Linked DNA regions of Homo sapiens: region 1 is linked to region 2. The links are contacts of gene promoters, found by promoter capture Hi-C in human tissues and cell types (Jung and others, 2019). All regions are on one chromosome and are shown on one strand. Each heading gives the region's core, a stretch centred on a gene start or on the middle of the fragment in contact. The rest is flanking DNA. Distances are from core to core; before and after follow the strand shown.

Evidence for each region. Contacts are between HindIII fragments. The study calls those that stand out against the background at their distance.
Region 1: a fragment that was not itself captured here is called in contact with the fragment with the promoter of ZNF841 in region 2 in 1 of the 25 tissues and cell types used here (aorta).

What each region holds. Positions count from the first base shown.
Region 1 is chr19:52,053,257-52,056,865 of GRCh38, reverse strand. No RefSeq gene overlaps it. Among named protein-coding and RNA genes, the nearest start is that of ZNF432, 6.2 kb to the right of the region's middle. The HindIII fragment of the contact is 8,170 bases long and covers 1-3,609 here.
Region 2 is chr19:52,094,035-52,097,475 of GRCh38, reverse strand. ZNF841 (zinc finger protein 841) reads left to right here and starts at 1,711. Exons shown (of 7, transcript NM_001136499.2): 1 at 1,711-1,901. The HindIII fragment of the contact is 12,551 bases long and covers 1-3,441 here.

The DNA.
Region 1 (3,609 bases), core at 383-2,882, 41 kb after region 2:
GGACTGTGATGCCCGCCTGAGTCTCAGACCAGTAAGTTTTTTTTTTAAGGGTTTCAAAAGGGGAGGGGGTGTAAGAACAGAGAGTAGGTACAAAGATCACATGCTTCAAAGAGCAAAAAGCAGAACCACTGATAAGGGTCTAACAAAGATTACATCTTTCTGAGGGAAAAGGGCAAAGGGCAAAAGTAGAACCACTGATATGGGTCCAACAAAGATCACAGGGCAAAGGGCAAAAGCAGAACCACTGTTAACACAATTATCACAGTGGTCCTGAGGTGACGTACATCCTCAGCTTATGAAGATAACAGGATTAAGATATTACAGTAAAGACAGGCATAAGAAATTATAAAAGTATTATTTGAGAACTGATAAATGTCCATATTAAAGTGAAATCTTCACAATTTATGTTCCTTTGCCGCAGCTCCATCTGGTCTCTCTGTTTGGGGTCCCTGCCTTCCTGTAACACATTGTGGTTTTGATTTGCATTTCTCTGATGGCCAGTGATGATGAGCATTTTTTCATGTGTCTGTTGGCTGCATAAATGTCTTCTTTTGAGAAGGGTCTGTTCATATCCTTCACCCACTTTTTGATAGGGTTGTTTGATTTTTTCTTGTAAATTTGTTTAAGTTCTTTGTAGATTCTAGATATTAGCCCTTTGTCAGATGGGTAGGTTGTAAAAATTTTCTCCCATTCTGTAGGTTGCCTGTTCACTCTGATGGTAGTCTCTTTTACTGTGCAGAAGCTCTTTAGTTTAATTAGATCCCATTTGTCAATTTTGGCTTTTGTTGCCATTGCTTTTGGTGTTTTAGTCATGAAGTCCATGCCCATGCCTGTGGCCTGAATGGTATTGCCTAGGTTTTTTTCTAGGGTTTTTATGGTTTTAGGTCTAACATTTAAGTCTTTAATCCATCTTGAATTAATTTTTGTATAAGGTGTAAGGAAGGGATCCAGTTTCAGCTTTCTATATATGGCTAGCCAGTTTTCCCAGCACCATTTATTAAATAGGAAATCCTTTCCCCATTTCTTGTTTTTGTCATGTTTGTCAAAGATCAGATGGTTGTACATGTGTGGTACTATTTCTGGGGGCTCTGTTCTGTTCCATTGGTCTATATCTCTGTTTTGGTACCAGTATCGTGCTCTTTTGGTTACTGTAGCCTTGTAGTATAGTTTGAAGTCAGGTAGCGTGATGCCTCCAGCTTTGTTCTTTTGGCTTAGGATTGTCTTGGCAATATGGGCTCTTTTTTGGTTCCATATGAACTTTAAAGTAGTTTTTTCCAATTCTGTGAAGAAAGTCATTGGTAGCTTGATGGGGATGGTATTGAATCTATAAATTACTTTGGGCAGTATGGCCATTTTCACGATCTTGATTCTTCCTATCCATGAGCATGGAATGTTCTTCCATTTGTTTGTGTCCTCTTTTATTTCGTTGAGCAGTGGTTTGTAGTTCTCCTTGAAGAGGTCCTTCACATCCCTTATAAGTTGGATTCCTAGGTATTTTATTCTCTTTGTAACAATTATGAATGAGAGTTCACTCATGATTTGGCTGTTTGTCTGTTGTTGGTGTATAGGAATGCTTGTGATTTTTCACATTGATTTTGTATCCTGAGACATTGCTGAAGTTGCTTATCAGCTTAAGGAGATTTTGGGCTGAGACGATGGGATTTCTAAATATACAATCTTGTCATCTGCAAACAGGGACAATTTGACTTCCTCTTTTCCTAATTGAATACCCTTTATTTCTTTCTCCTGCTTGATTGTCCTGGCCAGAACTTCCAACACTATGTTGAATAGGAGTGGTGAGAGAGGGCATCCCTGTCTTGTGCCAGTTTTCAAAGGGAATGCTTCCAGTTTTTGCCCATTCAGTATGATATTGGCTGTGGGTTTGTCATAAGTAGCTCTTATTATTTTGAGATACATCCCATCAATACCTAGTTTATTGAGAGTTTTTAGCATGAAGTGCTGTTGAATTTTGTCGAATGCCTTTTTTGCATCTATTGAGATAATCATGTGGTTTTTGCCTTTTGTTCTGTTTATGTGATGGATTATGTTTATTGATTTGTGTATGTTGAACCAGCCTTGCATCCCAGGGATGACACCAACTTGATCTTGGTGGATAAGCTTTTTGATGTATTGCTGGATTTGATTTGCCAGTATTTTATTGAGGATTTTTGCATCGATGTTCATCAGGGATATTGGTTTAAAATTCTATTTTTATGTTGTGTCTCTGCCAGCCTTTGGTATCAGGATGATGCTGGCCTCATAAAATGAGTTAGGGAGGATTCCCTCTTTTTCTATTTATTGGAATAGTTTCAGAAGGAATGGTACCAGCTCTTCTTTGTACCTCTGGTAGAATTCAGCTGTAAATCTGTCTGGTCCTGGACTTTTTTTGGTTGGTAGGCTATTAATTATTGCCTCAATTTCAGAGCCTGTTATTGGTCTATTCAGGGATTCAACTTCTTCCTGGTTTAGTCTTGGGAGGGTGTATGTGTCCAGGAATTTATCCATTTCTTCTAGGTTTTCTAGTTTATTTGCGTAGAGGTGTTTATAGTATTCTCTGATGGTAGTTTGTATTTCTGGAGATCGGTGGTGATATCCCCTTTATCATTTTTTATTGTGTCTATTTGATTCTTCTCTCTTTTCTTCTTTATTAGTTTTGCTAGCAGTCTATCAATTTTGTTGATCTTTTCAAAAACCAGCTCCTGGATTCATTGATTTTTTGAAGTGTTTTTTATGTCTGTATCTCCGTCAGTTCTGCTCTGATCTTAGTTATTTCTTGCCTTCTGCTAGCTTTTGAATGTGTTTGCTCTTGCTTCTCCAGTTCTTTTAATTGTGATGTTAGGGTGTCAATTTTAGATCTTTTCTGCTTTCTCTTGTGGGCATTTAGTGCTATAAATTTCCCTCTATACACTGCTTTAACTGTGTCAAGAGATTCTGGTATGTTGTGTCTTTGTTCTCATTGGTTTCAAAGAACATCTTTATTTCTGCCTTCATTTCGTTATGTACCCAGTAGTCATTCAGGAGCAGGTTGTTCAGTTTCCATGTAGTTGAGCGGTTTTGAGTGAGTTTCTTAATCCTGAGCTCTAGTTTGATTGCACTGTGGTCTGAGAGACAGTTTGTTATAAGTTCTGTTCTTTTACATTTGCTGAGGAGTGCTTAACTTCCAACTATGTGGTCAATTTTGGAATAAGTGCAATGTGGTGCTAGGAAAAATGTATATTCTGTTGATTTGAGGTGGAGAGTTCGGTAGATGTCTATTAGGTCCACTTGGTGCAGAGCTGAGTTCAATTCCTGGATATCCTTGTTATCTTTCTGTCTCGTTGATCTGTCTAATGTTTACAGTGGCAAGTTAAAGTCTCCCATTATTATTGTGTGGGAGTCTAAGTCTCTTTATAGGTCTCTAAGGACTTGCTTTATGAATCTGGGTGCTCCAGTATTGGGTGCATATATATTTAGGATAGTTAGCTCTTCTTGTTGAATTGATCCCTTTACCATTATGTAATGGCCTTCTTTGTCTCTTTTGATCTTTGTTGGTTTAAAGTCTGTTTTCTCAGAGACTAGGATTGCAACCCCTGCTTTTTTTTGTTTTCCATTTGCTTGGTAGATCTTCCT
Region 2 (3,441 bases), core at 462-2,961:
TGAGACACAAGGTGTGGTTCATCCTGAGGCAAAGTTTCTGCCCAGCTGTGAATCTGTGAAGCCAGAGAAGTTATCTGCTTCCAAAATACAATGGTGGGACAGGCATAGGAAACACCCTCAGCCCTGGAAACCACCCTTCTACTTTGTTACTCTGAATTTGATGTTTGTACTTAGCACGTGTAAGTAAGTGCATGAAGTATGTTTCTTTGTGTGTGTTGGGAACGGGTGCTCAGTGTCGCAAAAATCAACACTGAGACAAAGGATCTCTCAGCAAGGCTAGTTTACTTTCTGCAGAAAGGGTGCTGCTCACTAGCAGTCTTGCCACGAGAGTACACATGAACAAAAGAGAAGGGTCATTTATAACCTGACGCATCTGGCCGGGCGCGGTGGCTCATGCCTGTAATCCCAGCACTTTGGGAGGCCGAGGTGGGCGGATCACGAGGTCAGGAGATCGAGACCATCCTGGCTAACGCAGTGAAACCCCGTCTCTACTAAAAATACAAAAAATTAGCTGGGCGCAGTGGCAGGTGCCTCTAGTCCCAGCTACTCGGGAGGCTGAGGCAGGAGAATGGCGTGAACCCAGGAGGCAGAGCTTGCAGTGAGCCGAGATAGCGCCACTGCACTCCGGCCTGGGCGAAAGAACGAGACTCCGTCTCAAAAAAAATAATAATAATAATAACCTGACGCGTCCACCCTACTGCTGTGTCTGGTTTCCATTGGCTGGAATCGGACCCAATTCTGTGCTTGACCTGATTGGCTAGCACCTTAGAACTTCCCAAAAGAGGCAAAGGCAGAGGAGAACAAAGGAAGAGAGGAAGTAACTTGTGGAAGGCTGAGAGAGGCAAAAACACTTCCAAATAAGGAAGAGGAATAGGCTGTGACCTAATGCTTGCTTGGAACAATTCAGGCATGCCAGGGCAAATATCTAGGCTAAAATGTGGGAGCTAAGAACACAGAGTATATTGATTTATCTATTATGGCTAGCAGATATTTAAGAATATTAGCACAGGTCTTTGAGTAAATTTTGCTTCTAAGAGAGGTTACTATCTATTCTCAATTAGACTGGGAGGAAAGTCCCTTTGAAGAGGAACCTCTACTTATTTCATTTTCTACACTGTGTCTAGCACATTTCGCTTGGCATAATGTCTTCTGGGTTCCTGGATCCAGTCACTGCTCCACATCCAATCCCCACCGAGATCCCAGTTCCCTGACTACTGAGTAGCTTCAGCTTTTCTGGTAAGACTGGATGGAGTCCACCAGGCTCGGAAAAATCGGTTTTGACTTAAATCAGTTCAACTTGTTAAGAATAAATCATCTTAGTTTCCAGTATAAGTGGACCACAACTTTAAGATTCAACCTTAAATTCTGAAACATTAATTTAAAATGGGCAAGGAGCAACGCTGCTTCACAGGACAAGAAATAGTCACAAATACTCCCAAACCTGGAAAACAAAATCCTGCTGGGTGAGAGGCGGAGTGGAGAACAGGCCCCGCCTCGGCCCCGCCCACCCCTGGAGGCCCCGCTTCATCCCAGTTTTCGGTCCAGCCAAGCCCCACCTAGTCACGCCCCCTACCGCCCTGGGCCTCCCACCACCCTTTCGGGCCACTCCCAAGTCAGGCCAGTCTTTCCGCCCAGCCCTTTCCTAGTCGCGCCCCGCCTAGGCCCCGCCCCCAGGCCGCCCAGTTTTTCTTTCCGCGCCCAGTTTCCTGCACACCCGGAAGCAGATCGCGCTGGGGAAAGGCCACGTCGCTATGAGTGTGTTTCAGTCTACCTGGATTAAACGTTTGCTTCTCTTCGTCTACCTTGATTAAACGTGCACTTCGCAGTCCTCGGTTCTCCATACCCGTGACCTGGGGATCGCTACGGACCTTAAAATACCCGCAACAGCCCCTTCGTCCCAAGTAAGTAGGAGAATTGCTTCCCTTTCGGTTTAAAATCTCTCTGAGGCCGTTCCTTGCTCTCTGCCTTTCTTCCTTAGGACCATGTAGACAACCCCATTCAGGTAGTGTTCCCGCTTAAAACCCTCTGCTTGGGCCCCGCGCCAAGTCGAGTCCTCATTCGGGATGTGGACTAGCGCCCTTCGCGATCCCCGAGCTCCTCCGTCGTCTGCCCCTGGAGGGGAGCGCCCACTGTCCGGCTCCTGAAGGAGCCGCTTCTCCTCCCACGTCCTGGGATTCTGCAGACCCTCCCTGTCGTGAGACATCGTTCTCCGCGCCACCTCGTGTCGTCCTCACGCCGGGTCCTTCCGCTCCCCAGGCTTCCCCTTCACAGCCACTGCTTTTCTTGACTCCCCGTTGGGACAGGTTACCTGAGTCTGTCTTGTGACACCCAGTGTTCTTCCTTCCCAAATTTTACTCCACTGGAAAATGTGCTCTTCCGGGAGGTGGGCATCCTATTCCTCCCCTTTCCTCCCGAATGTGTGGGTGAGAGGGATCAGGAGAGGAAAAGACGGGGAACGACGGAGCAAAAGGAAAAACTGAGGAGAAAAGAATGAGGGAGACCCATAAATACACGGCAAAATGGATGATACTTTAGGGACTTGCAAAGAGAGCAAGAGTGAAAGAGAACGGATGGAAAAAGTAGCAGGGGGAGAAAAGCACACAGAGAAATTTAGAAAAAAAGGGGACCTTCAGAGAGATGAAGGGCAGCAAAATAGAGTGGGGCGGCAAAGGAGGAGGCACTGCAGACAGACAGACAGTGGGGAGAAGGTGAAAGAGTTGGAGCCGCGGCTGACAGAGCTACGTGGTGCTGGGACTGAAAGAGAGGGAGAGAGGGCAGTGGGTGACAAGCAGAGTAGAGGGAGAACCACAGCAGGGAGTAAGCCTAGGAAATTGGGGGTGCTAGAGAGTGGGAACAAAGGAGATGTAACAGGGAAGAGGGAATTTAACAAGGAGAGCAGAGAGGGAGCTTAGATGGGGGAAAAGAGGCAGAAATACGTGGAGATTGGGGACAATCGGAAAGATTGGGGAGAAAGAGCTACGAGAGGTGAAGTAAGTTGCAGAGCATTGGGCAGAACAGACATAAAAGAGGGAATAAAGAAAGGGGTGCAAAACAGAAAAGGAGAAAAAAAAGACGCTCAGAATGAGAGAGGGAAACACATAGCCGTGAAGAAAGCGGGAGAGGACCCCATCCAGATGCGTGACAGTTGATTGGATATGGATGGTGGTTGTAATATATTGATTTGTGGCTTTATACTCTGATTTGAAATATGTTTAAGTTGTACTCATGAGGATGAAAATCACCAAAGTTTTTTCTATAAGCCTTGTGCATTTTGTATGTATTTGTATCAAAAGATATTTGGAATTCCTATTTAGCCAGAGGGCAGTGACTTGATCCAGTTATTTGTGGTAACTCTCTTCTTCCCAATGATGGAGTAGAGCATAAAGGAGGGGAGAAATGGGGCAAGAAATGACTGACTGTCACTACAAGATATGTCTTTGG